2 separate regions of the Homo sapiens genome follow, and region 1 is linked to region 2. The links are contacts of gene promoters, found by promoter capture Hi-C in blood cells and fetal thymus (Javierre and others, 2016). All regions are on one chromosome and are shown on one strand. Each heading gives the region's core, a stretch centred on a gene start or on the middle of the fragment in contact. The rest is flanking DNA. Distances are from core to core; before and after follow the strand shown. Region 1 holds the start of OGDH (oxoglutarate dehydrogenase). Region 2 holds the start of UBE2D4 (ubiquitin conjugating enzyme E2 D4).

What was found. Contacts are between HindIII fragments. The CHiCAGO score rates a contact against its expected background, and 5 or more counts as called.
Region 1: the fragment with the promoter of OGDH here is called in contact with the fragment with the promoter of UBE2D4 in region 2 in 1 of 17 cell types (fetal thymus); the score reaches 5.4 in fetal thymus.

Annotation. Positions count from the first base shown.
Region 1 is chr7:44,604,515-44,610,398 of GRCh38, forward strand. OGDH (oxoglutarate dehydrogenase) reads left to right here and starts at 2,113. Exons shown (of 23, transcript NM_002541.4): 1 at 2,113-2,139. RefSeq lists enhancers at 1,673-2,272, 2,524-3,087, 2,763-3,102 and a silencer at 2,313-2,542. The HindIII fragment of the contact is 8,395 bases long and covers 1-2,759 here.
Region 2 is chr7:43,921,359-43,928,033 of GRCh38, forward strand. UBE2D4 (ubiquitin conjugating enzyme E2 D4) reads left to right here and starts at 5,078. Exons shown (of 7, transcript NM_015983.4): 1 at 5,078-5,198. The coding sequence starts at 5,175. It also overlaps a transcript of URGCP not described here. RefSeq lists a silencer at 4,972-5,511. The HindIII fragment of the contact is 2,907 bases long and covers 3,799-6,675 here.

The DNA.
Region 1 (5,884 bases), core at 863-3,362, 680 kb after region 2:
TCAAGAGTTCAAGACCAGCCTGGCCAACATGGTGAAACCCCATCGCTACTAAAAATACAAAATAAGCTGGGCGTAGTGGCGGGCGCTTATAATCCCAGCTACTTGAGAGGCTGAGGCAGGAGAATTGCTTGAATCTACAAGGCAGAGGTTGCAGTGAGCCGAGATGACACCACTGCACTCCAGCCTGGGCAACAAGAACGAAACACCATCTCAAAAATAAAAAAAGAAAGAAAGAAAAAGAAAAAAATATTAGCCAGGCATGGTGGAGCGTGCCAGTAGTCCCAGCTACTTGGGAGGCTGAGGCATCAGAATCACTTGAACCTGGGTGGCAGAGATTGCAGTGAGCTGAGATGGCACCACTGCCCTCCAGCCTGAAACCGAGGGAGATCCTGTCTCAAAAAAAAAAAAAAGAAATGAAGTTCTGACCCATGCTACAACACAGATAAACCTTGACAACCTCATGCTCAATGAAATAAGGTGGACACAAAAGGACATATACATTATGATTTCACCCACATAAAGTAATTGAGTAATCAAATGTATAGAGACCGTATAATAGAGGTTACCAAAGGAGAGAAGGACAGGAGGAGAAGGGGAAATAGGAAGTTATTGCTTAATGGTTACAGAGTTGCTGTTTCAGGTGATGAAAAAGTTTTGGAAATTGAGTGGTGACGGTTGCATAATATTGTGAATGTAATTAATGCCACTGAGTTATACACCTAAAAATGGTTAAAATGGCATTAAAAAAAAAAAGACAGTATCTTGCTCTCTGGCCCAGGCTGGAGTGCAGTGGTACAATCATAGCTCACTGCAGCCTCAATCTCTCAGGCTCAAGAGATCCTCCTGCCTCAGCCTCCCAATTAGCTGAGACTACAGGTGAGTGCCACTACACCTGGCTAATTTTCTTGATTTTTTAGTAGAAATGAGATCTTGCTCTGTTCCCCAGGCTGATCTGGAACTCCTGAGCTCAAGCGATCCTCCCGCCTCCACCTCCCGAAGTGCTGGGATTACAAGCGTGAGCCACTGCACCCAGCTGCAAATGTTTAGTACATACATTTTTACCGTAATTTATTTAAAAAAAAAAAAGGAAAAAAGAATACAGAAGTTTGTTCCTTGGTCTCTTCACCTCTTCCAGTCTCTAGATCCTTGTCACATACATTACCCTAACTTTGTTCTATAATAAGCACTTATACGCCCCCTTTTTTTGTTTGTTTTTTGAGACGGATTTTCGCTCTTGTTGCCCAGGCTGGAGTGCAATGGCACGATCTCGGCACACCGCAACCTCCGTCTCCCGGGTTCTAGCGACTCTCCTGCCTCAGCCTCCCGAGTAGCTGGGATCGCCACCACGCCCAGCTAATTTTTGTATTTTTAGTAGAGACGGGGTTTCCCCATGTTGGTCAAGCTGGTCTCGAACTCCTGACCTCAAGTGATCCGCCCGCTTCGGCCTCCCAAAGTACTGGGATTACAGGCGTGAGCCACCGCGCCCGGCCTTTCCCCAAATTTTAATACTTTAAAATAGGGAACATCTTACAATCAACAGGTTGTGACAGGTTAATTAGCCACGTTTTATCTTTGATAGGTAGCTCTAAAGTCAAGAAAACCCAGGCAAGATCCCGGGCAAGATCCCAGCACTGCCAACTGTCATTTGTAGACCGGGGATAGGAACACCTGTCTCACAGATTGTTACACAATAGCGCCGGTGAAGCGCTTGTCACAAAGCCTGACCCAGGACAATCTCAAAAACGGAGATTCTGTTATTCAAATTGTTTATTTTTGTGCGCTAAGTTTCACATCAACCCAACTATCTCTTGATAGGTTCCTACCAGGCGCTAGAGATATCTTACTTTCAGAAATTATTTATGATAGCAGAAGCCGCTGGAAGTCCATAGACAACCTCATCTCTCTAGCGGAGCAAACAGCTGGGCTCCAGCTGGCCCTGGCTTCTGCAACTGCGCAGTCGGCGCTGTGACGCCCGGCGCGGCTCTGTGACGTCACGAATCGGTCCTCTGTAAGAGGGGAGGGCATTCTTCTCCAGGGGAGGGCTACGTGTTGACGCCATACGCCGGGGCGGGGCCGAGAGTTTGGAGCCCCGGAGTGGGGTGTCGGCGCCTCATTCGGGTGGAGCTGAGCCGGAGACAGGTAACCGTGCGCTGTCGCCGCGCCCGTCCCAGTGCCGGGTGTCGCGGCGCTTGGCGGCCCGGGGTTGGAGATCGCGGTAAAGGGGGAGGCCGCCGCGCCCTTGGTGCTGCGGGCGCCGCGGTGACAGGGGAGTGGAGCTGGATGGAGTGGGGCTCACGGAGGGTGGTAGGAGGGACGGGACCTGATGGATGGCCGTGGCAGCCAATGGAGCCGCGGGGCCTGCCCGGCGGGCGGAGATTGGCGGGTACGGGCGGGCTCCGAGGTCGCGCGGGGCGCGGAGCGACGCGCCATTGGCGGTGGGCGAGCGGGGGGCGGGCGCGGCGGCGGATGTGAGGGAGAGGGCGGTGCGTCCGCAGGGGTGACCCCCAAGGTCGCCGCGGGCGTCACGTGGTTAGGCCGCTCTCCGACGGCGTCCTTCCCGACCGGGACGCACTCTCCTTCCCGCCTGTGAGGACCGCGTCGCTTTGTCCGAAAGACAGTGTGGCCTGCTCGAGTTGCGTCGGAGCATCTGGCTTTGGGGTGGCCCTGGGTGGGACTGCCTGTTTGGATTACCGCGCAGACCTTGGCGCCGCCCCCACACCTGCTGCCAGAAGTTGGGTCGAACAGATTGACCGAGATGAAGCTTATTTCTCGTAGAAACATCTTTCAAGCACCATTTTCCCTCGAAAATATATCAGACATTGGATATGAGTTGTAATCTACTGAGATTTAATAGAAAACTTGCCGCGCCCTCGCCCTGACCTGGGTGCGTCCCACCTGCCATCCCCATCCCTTTGCCCAGAACATAGGACTTCGTGTTAGGGTTTCCTTGTGCCTTGTCTTGCAGTCCGTACTTTGAGGCTGATTTCCAGGTACACTGCTCTGAACAGCTGGGTTTAGGATGGGTGGCATGGGATAAAGCCTTTTTTTGTAAGGCAGCACTAGTTGCAACAGTCAAACTGTACTTTGCCGTGTAGACCTAGGAGAGTATGTAACACTATTGTAGTTTTGTAAATTAGCTGAGGACTGGATCTTGGGAAGTTGAATAAAGATCACTGTATGCTCATTTTTTGTTGTTGTTGTCTTGTTTGAGATGGAGTCTCTGTCGCCCAGGCTGGAGTGCTGTGGCGCGATCTCGGCTCACTGCAACCTCTGCCTTCCTGGGTTCAAGTGATTCTCCTGCCTCAGCCTCCCAAGTAGCTGATATTACAGGCACGCGCCATCACGCCCGGCTAATTTTTGTATTTTTAGTAGAGACGGGTTTTCACCACCTTGGCCAGGCTATTCTCGAACTCCTGACCTCAGGTGATCCGCCCGCCTCGGCCCCCAAAGTGCTGGGATTACAGGCGTGAGCCACTGCGCCCGGCCCCTCATTATTTTTTTTAAGCGCACTTTTCACATTTCAGTTACTTTTTCCCTTTAAATAACATCTTTATTGAGATAAAATTCACATACCATACGATTCACCCATTTGACGTGCACAATTTCGGCCAGTCGTGGTGGCTCACGTTTGTAATCCCCACACTTTGGGAGTGTGAAAGGAAGATCCCTTGAGCTCAGTTCAAGGAGACCAGCCTGAGCAACCAAAGTGATACCCGGCGTCTACAAAAAATAAAATTATCCGGATATGGTGGCATATACCACATATACTTGTAGTCGCAACTACTCAGGAGGCTGAGGCGGGAGGATGGCATGAGCCAGGGAGGTCCAAGCTGCAGTGAGCCATTATTGCCCCACTGCACTCTAGCCTGGGTGACACAGTGAGATCCTGTCTCAAAAAAAAAGGCCGGGCGCAGTGGCTCACGCCTGTAATCCTAGCACTTTGGGAGGCCGAGGTGGGTGGATCCCCTGAGGTTGGGAGTTTGAGACCAGCCTGGCCAACATGGTGAAACCCTGTCTCTACTAAAAATACAAAAGTTAGCAGGGCATGGTGGCGTGGGCCTGTAGTCTCAGCTACAGGCTGAGCTCCTCCAGCCTCAGCAGGAGGCTGAGGCAGGAGAATCGCTTGAACGCAGGAGGCAGAGGTTGCAGCGAGTCGAGATGGCGCCACGGCACTACAGCCTGAGCGACAGAGCAAGACTCCATCTCAAAAAAAAAAGGAAAGAAAAAACTACAGTATCATCTACTTTTTAGATTTTTAGGTAATTTTTGAGATCATTGTACAAATTATTGAGAAATTCATTTTGAAAACAGTAAAATTTTAAGAAATTGTACATAAAAATTTATTCTATGCAGTCATAATAAATAGTACAGAGAGATCCTGTGTTCCTTTCCCACTTCTCTAACATTGTGCAAAACTATAGTAAATATCACAGCCAGATATTGACATTAATAAAATTCAAGATACAGAATATTCCCGTCATCACAAGGATCCCTTCCATTGCTTTTTTATAGCCACACCCACATTCCTCCCATTCCCAGTCCTTCAACTCCTGGTAACCACTAATCTGTTCTTCATTTCCCTAATTTTGGCATGTCAAGAATGCCAAATAAAAGGATTCATAGAGCCTTTTGGGATTGGTTTTTTCCAGTCAGCTTAATTCCCTGGAGAATCATCCAGGTTGTTGCGTGTTATGGGTAGTTCATTCCTTGGCCAGGCGCAGTGGCTTACGCCTGTAATCCTAGCAACTTTGGGAGGCTGAGGCAGGCAGATCGCTTGAGCCCCAGGAGTTCGAGTCTGAGGAACATAGTGAGACCTCGTCTCTACAAAAAAAAAAAAAAAAAAAAATTAGCCAGGCGCAGTGGTGTGTTCCTGTAATCCCAGCTACTCAGGAAGCTGAGGTGGGAGGATCGCTTGAGCCTAGGCTGTGGTGGCTGCGGTGAGCCGAGATCGCGCCACTGCACTCCAGCATGAGTGACAGAGTGAGACCCTGTCTCAAAAAAAAAAAAAAAAAGGTACTTCATTCCTTTTTATTGAAGCCGGGCTATTGGGCTATGGATGTACCACATTTGGTTTATTCATCCATTAAAAGACATCTTTACTGTTTCCATTCTTTGGCTATTACAAATAAAGCTGCTACAAACCTTCATGTACAGATTTTTATTTGAACATAAATTGACATTTCTCCAAGATAAATGCCCAGGAATACAATCACTAAGTCGTAGTGCGTGCTTAGTTATTAAACAAATAGCCAAACTGTTTTCCAGAGTGATTGTACTATTTTACATTCCCACCGGCACTGTATGGTCTTGTTTCTCCACATACTTGCCAGCATTTGGTGATGTTACTTTTTTTATTATAGCCATTCCAATAAATGTGTAGTAATGTCTCTTTGTGGTTGTAATTTGCATTTTTCTGATGGCTAATGATGTTGAACATCTTTTCATGTGCTTATTTGCCATCTGTCTATTCTCTCTTTTTTTGGAAGAGATGGGATCTTGCTATGTTGCCCAGGCTGGTCTTGAACTCCTGGGATCAAGTGATCCTCCTGTCTTAGCCTCCCAAAGGCTAGGATTTCAGGCATGAGCCACCATGCCTGGCCCCTGTATACTCTCGGGTGAAATGTCTGTTCATATCTTTTGTTCATTTCGTAATTAGATTGTTCGGTTTTTGTTAACTGTTGAGCTTTGAGAATTCCTAATGTATTCTAGATACCACTGCTTTGTTGGATATGTAGTTTGCAGATATTTTCTCCTAGTCAGCAGCATGTCTTTTCATCTTGGTTTTTTTTTTGTTTGTTTGTTTGTTTTGTTTTTGAGATGGAGTCTCGTTCTGTCCCCCAGGCTGGAGTGCAGTGGCGTAATCTCTACAACCTCTGCCTCCCAG
Region 2 (6,675 bases), core at 3,828-6,327:
TTAACTGGCCTAAAGGAAAATAAGTGCTTTGATCAGATATTTTTGAAGGGAAAATAAAAGCTGTAATACCTTTTAGTTCATGTGACTTTAATCCTTGAGAAATAAAAACAGTCTTAAAGATTACTGGTAAAATGCAAATGTGAACAGGTGGTCTAAATTATACGGGACAGATATTAGGTTTGCTAAATGTTTTACAGTTATAAACTTCTTCTTTGGACTTTGAGAACTGTTCAACTTGCCTACTTTACAACTTGGCAAGGCCCAGGACTTGGCAAGGGACTCGGTAAGGCTCTTAATCTTAGCAAATAATCATTAATCATATAATCTCAGTAAAATGTTCTAAGAAGGAATGGACATGGAAATTTTTGTCTAGGGTTAAAGGATTATTTTAAATTAGATAAGATAAAGCTAAAGGTTTAAACAAGTTGTGGAAGGTTTCTTGCAAAAGAAATTCTGTGTGTGAACACTAAATTCAAAAGGGTATTATGTTTTTCTGTAAATAATTGAGCATTGAAATACAAGCACGAGGTTTTCTTTTTCTTTTTTTTTTTGAGATGGGAGTCTCGCTCTGTCGCCCAGGTTGGAATGCAGTGGCACGATCTTGGCTCACTGCAACCTCTACCTCCCAGGTTCAAGCTATTCTCCTGCCTTCGATTCCTAAGTAGCTGGGATTACAGGTGCAGGCCACCATGCCCAGCTAATTTCCGTTTTTGTTTGTTTGTTTGAGAGTGGGTCTCGCACTGTCACCCAGGCTGGAGTGCAGTGGCGCGATCTTGGCTCCTGGCAACCTCCACCTCCCAGGTTCAAGCGATTCTGCCTCAGCCTCCCGAATACCTGGGATTACAGGTGTGCACCATCACACTTGGATAATTTTTGTATTTTTAGTAGAGACAGGGTTTCACCATGTTGGCCAGGCTGGTCTCGAACTCCTGACCTCAGGTGATCCACCTGCCTTGGCCTCCCAAAGTGCTAGGATTACAGGTGTGAGCCACCATACTTGGTATCACTTAACTTTCTGAGGAACTGCTAAACTCTTTTCCAAAAATGACTGCACCATTTTATAGTCGCACCAGAATGTGTGAGGGTTCCAACTTCTCCACATCTTTGTCAACACTTGTTGTCTGTCCCTTTAATTACAGCCATCCTAGAGGGTGTGAAGTGGTATCTCATTATGGCTTTGATTTGCATGTCCCTTATAACTCATGATTATTATTTTCTTGAGACAGGGTCTTGCTCTGTTTCCCAGGCTGGAATGCAGTAGCGTGAATGGGGCTCACAGCAACCTCAACCTCCTAGGCCCAAGCAATCATAGCTGGGACTACAGGCATGCGCCACCATGCTCTACTAATTCTTAAAATTTTTTCAAGTATCTGCTTTTGGTGAAGAAAAAAAATTTTTTTTCTTGTAGAGATGGGGTCTTGCCATGTTGCCCAAGCTGGTCCTGAACTCCTGGATTGGGTGATCCTCCCACCACAGTCACCCAAACTGCTGGGATTATAGATGTAAGCCACCACACCAGGCATTTTTTTTTCTTTCTCTTTCTTTCTTTCTTTCTCTTTCTTTCCGTCTTTCTTTCTTTCTTTCCTTCTCTCTTTCTCTCTCTTTCTCCTCTCTCTCTCTCTTACTTTCTTTCTTTCTTTTAGAAGGAGTCTCGCTCTGTTGCCCAGGCTGCTGGAGTGCAGTGGTACAATCTCGGCTCATTGCAACCTCTGTCTCCCAGGTTCAAGCGATTCTCCTGCTTCAGCCTCCCAACTGGCTGAGATTACAGGCATGCACCACCATGCCAAGCTGATTTTTGTATTTTTAGTAGAGATGGGGTTTCACCATATTGGCCAGGTTGGTCTCAAACTCCTGACCTCATGATCTGCCCTCTTTGGCCTCCCAAAGTGCTGGAATTACAGGTGTGAGCCACTGTGCCCAGCCTTTTTTTTTTTTTTTTTCCCAAAGAGACAGGGTCTTGCTCTGTCTCCTGGGCTGGAGTACAGTGGCTCAATCATAGCTCCCTGCAGCCTCAAATTCCTGGAATCAAGCAATAATCATACCTCAACCTCCCGAATAGCTGTGCCCTCAGATGCACACCACCACATCCAGCTAACTTTTAAATTTTTCTGTAGAATCAGGGGTTCGCTATGTTGCCCAATCTGGTCTCAAACTCCTGGCCTCGAGCAATCCTCCAACCTCAGCTTCCCAAAGTGTTGAGATTACAGGCCTGAGCCACCACACCCAGCCTGATTTTTTTAAAATGTGCTTATTGTCCAGTTGAGTATCTTCTTTGAAGAAATTTCTATTCACATCTTTTGCCCAGTTTTTAATTGGGTTATTTGTCTTTTTTATTGAGTTCTAAATGTTCTTAATATACTCTGCATCTTAGACTGTACTGAGATATTATTATTTCAAACATTTTCTCGCATTCTGTGTGTTGTCTTTTTGTTTTCTAGTTGGTATTGCTTGAAGCACAAAAGTTTTAAACTTTCATGTAGTCAAATTTATCCATTTAAAAATCTTTTGTGTATTATTATTATTTTTTTTTTGAGACACAGTCTCGCTGTTGCCCAGGTTGAAGGGCAGTGGTGCAATCTCAGCTCACTGCAATCTCTGCCTCCTGGGTTCAAACAATTATTGAGCCTGAGCCTCCCAAGTAGCTGGGACTACAGGTGCATGCCACCACACCTGGCTAAATTTTGTATTTTTTGTAGAGATGGGGTCTCACCATGTTGGCCAGGCTGAGCTCAAACTCCTGGCCTCAAGCAATCCACCTGCCTTGACCTCCCAAAGTGCTGCGATTACAGGCATAAGCCACTGCACCTGACCAATTGTGTATTATTCTTGCAACATTTCTGTACATCTAAAATTATTTCAATGTTAAAAATGAAACATTACATATAAGCATGCTAAAAAGTTTAGAAAACTATGCACTAAACTACCAACAGGGAATAGAAACAGAATTTTTCATTTTCTATTATATGTTTTTTTCCTGAATTATACAAATGATGCAAATTCTCTGTAGAAATTTTAGAGATTAACACATTAGTAAACCTACCATCCAAAAGTAATATTTTTGAGATTTGAGACTTCAAAACCACCATATACATTATTAGCACATAAATAACCATTTATATATTCTTACACAAATATATCAACATTTATAAAATCTAGAATCACTTGTTTTATGGGGAGGGAAGGCCATGTCAATAATGTAGGAGGATGGATGGCCCATGGACTAACAAAAATTTCTGTTGTCAATGTTTGACACCAAGGGGAAGTGCTTGACTTGGGCTGTTCAATGGGTGATGCTTGAGCTGGCTTTGGAAGGTGAATGCTCTAGTCAAGGAATGTAGATGCTGTGGTGATGGAAACACTTGATAGTCAGGTGGGCTGGAGGTAGGAAGGAGAAGGTAAAGCTGGAGGATACTTTGAGTTTTTGTTTTTTTGAGACAGGGTCTTGCTTTGTCTCCCAGCCTGGAGTGCAGTGGTGCCATCACAACTCACTGCAACTTTGATCTCCTGGGCTCAAGTAAGCCTCCCAAGTAGCTGGGACTACAGGTGCACACCACCATGCCCAGCTAAGTTTTGTATTTTTTGTAGAGACGGGGTTTCACCATGTTGCCCAGGATGGTCTAGAACTCCTGGACTAAGGGATCCACCCACCTCAACCTCCCAAAGTGCTGGGATTACAGGCATGAGTAACTGTGCCCGGCCGAGGATCCTGGATTTTGAAGGCCCCTGGATGACAGTGAATGTGATGCTGTAGGCCACGGGGCTTCCTTGAAGAGTTCTGGGTAAGGATGCAGTGTGGTAAGCTTTATATTTCAGACAGTTCATGAAGTTGTGTGGAGGACAGATTGGGGGAATGGGAGCGTGAAAGCCAGGGACAAAGCTGGGCAACTATTGAAATGTCTATAATACATTTTATATGCTGACTGAGTACAAACATAGAGGTGACCATGTGTCTTGGCTGGCTGGAGACAATTCTAGATTACAGCGTTGGTCCCAGAGTAATTATATTAACAGCCACTTTCATGCTCAAACATGTCTCAGTCTGAAGATTAAATATCATCTACATACACACACCAACAAAACTTCCACAATTCTTACCTTTACTATGTGAAATGCACTGATATTTTATTCTGTTTTTTTATTTTTATTTTTTATTATTTTTGAGACAGAGTCTCGCTCTGTCACCCAGGCTGGAGTGCAACAGTGTGATCTCAGCTCACTGCAACCTCTGCCTCCTGGGTTCAAGTGATTCTCGTGCCTCAGCCTCTCAAGTAGCTGGGATTACAGGCATACGTCACTACGCCCAGCTAATTTCTGTATTTTTAGTAGAGACGGAGTTTCAGCATGTTGGCCAGGCTGGTCTCGAACTCCTGACCTCAAGTGATCCGCCTGCCTCGGCCTCCCAAAGTGCTGGGATTATAGGCGTGAGCCACCTCGTCTGGCTTTTTTTTTTTTTTTTTCAAAAAAATGTTGGTTGCAACCTATTAAATTGATTTCGTGACACACTAGTTCATAACCCTCAGTTTGAACAACTCTGACCTAGACGCCTGCCAAGTCTTGGGAAAATAGGAAGGAGACAGATAATTAAGTTTGGGAGATGCATAGTCTAAGGCCAGGGTTCTCAATGTTGGCAGTGCAAGATCACGTGAGGTACGACTGAACACGGAGATCTCCAAAACTGCGGAGAGTTTTGCGTGTGAACGTATGCACAGACATCTACATGGAAATGGCTGTAACGCATCCAGCCATAAGGCGTACGAGGGTATATATACTTACAGAGTTAAGAACCACTATTCTCAGGAGTTATATGACAGCCTGGGAAGACGCCCAGGATGTAGGAACAGGGAGCAGGCGAGCGTGTGGCACCTTGAGGGTGCTCCGCGCGTCTCCGTAAAGCCAACGAGCCCCTCCTCTTCGCTGGCCTCTCCGGGGCCTTGCTGACTAGTGGTCGAAGCCACAGGACCAGGTGCGGGTGGCCAGCGTAACCCGGGCAGCCCCGCTGCTTCCCCTCGGCCGCGCCAGGACGCTCGGCACGCGGCGACGACGGCCCCACAGTGCCCCGCGCGCGCAAGCGCAGGCTGCGGCTCCCGGCGTGCAGCTTGGTGGCGGCTGAGCCGGCAGCGGGCCGCCTCAGGCAGCCCCGGCCGGGCCGCCCGGGTCCCCGGCAGCGGGGTAGGATGGCGCTAAAGCGGATCCAGAAGGTACGCACTTTCCCACCCTCCAACTCTTTGGGTGTCCGAAGCGTCGAGGTGTGGGCGGGGCGCCGCTGCCGTGAAGTGAAAGGTGACGGAGGCTCCGCGAGTCGCGGATACACCTGCCTGGGAAGGAGGCAGAACAGCCTCCCGCGCAGCCTGAAAAGCGAACGCAGCCTGAGAAAGGGATTGCGCGAGCGCGGGGCGGGGCCGGGCCGTGGCCACGAGGGCTGCGTCATGCGGGCGGGGCGCCGTGGGGCCACCTGCAGGCTTCTGGACAGCGGGTTCCCCCTGTAGGGTATCCAGAAGGGCTGGGTGGGTATCCAGAAGGGTATCCAGGAAGAAGCTGGGTCCTAAGGGATGAGTAGGAACTCGGCAGGTGGGGAAAAGGGGAAAAGGCTTTCCCTGCAACGGGGAGACTACGAGGCTTGGAGGACTGACAGGGTAGCGGGGAAGCTGAAGGGCAGATGGTGTGGACTTGGGTGGTCCTTAGGAGCAGTGCTGAAGTAACTGGTTTTTATCCTGCAGGTAAGAGGGAGTCCATGAGGGTTTAATGCATTCACTAGAATTTGGAAAACGCACAACAGTAGAAGAAAGAAGTATTTCTAATTCTATCACTTTACTATTTGTTAACATTTTAGCATACCTACCTTCAGTTTTTTTTCTATATTTAAAACAATTATACTGCATTTTGTATTCCACTTATTCACATAATAGTAAATGTAAGCATGTTGTGAAGTAGTATTTATAACTTTTTTTTTTTTTTTTTTTGAGGTCTTGCTCTGTCGCCCAGGCTGGAGTATCGCCCAGGCTGGAGTACAGTGGCACAATCATGGCTCACTGCAGCCTCAACCTTCTAGGTTCAAGTGATCCTCCCTCCTCAGCTTCCTGGGTAGCTGGGACTACATGCCACCATGCCAGCCAATTGTTTATTTTTTGTAGAGACAGTGTCTCGATATGTTGCCCAGGCTGGTCTCATACTCCTGGGCTTAAGCGGTCCTCTTGCCTCTGCCTCCTAAAGTGGCGGGATTACAACGTGAGACACCATGCCCAGTCCTATAACTAATTTTTAACATTAACTTTCCACAAGTACATGACTAGTAACTTATTTAGTCATTACCTGTAGTAGGTAAAAGTATGGACTTGGGTGTCAGACAGACCTGGGTTAGAGAATGTGAGGTCACTTATAGTGGGACCTTGGGCAAGGCACTTTATCATTCCTAGCCTCCCAGTCCTACATGTTTACAGAGTTGTTTTGAGAATTAAATGCTATGAAATGTGTTTAGCACATGCTTGCTGTATACCAAACACTCAATACGAGTTAGCTGCTGTTATTGTTCAAAATTCTTCACTAAGTATTTGCTGTTACGAACTGTGTATTAGTCTGTTTTGTGTTGCTATAAAGGAATATCTGAGGCTGGGTAATTAATAAAGAAAAGAGGTTTATTTGGCTCTCGGTTCTGCAGGCTGTACAAGAAGCATGGTG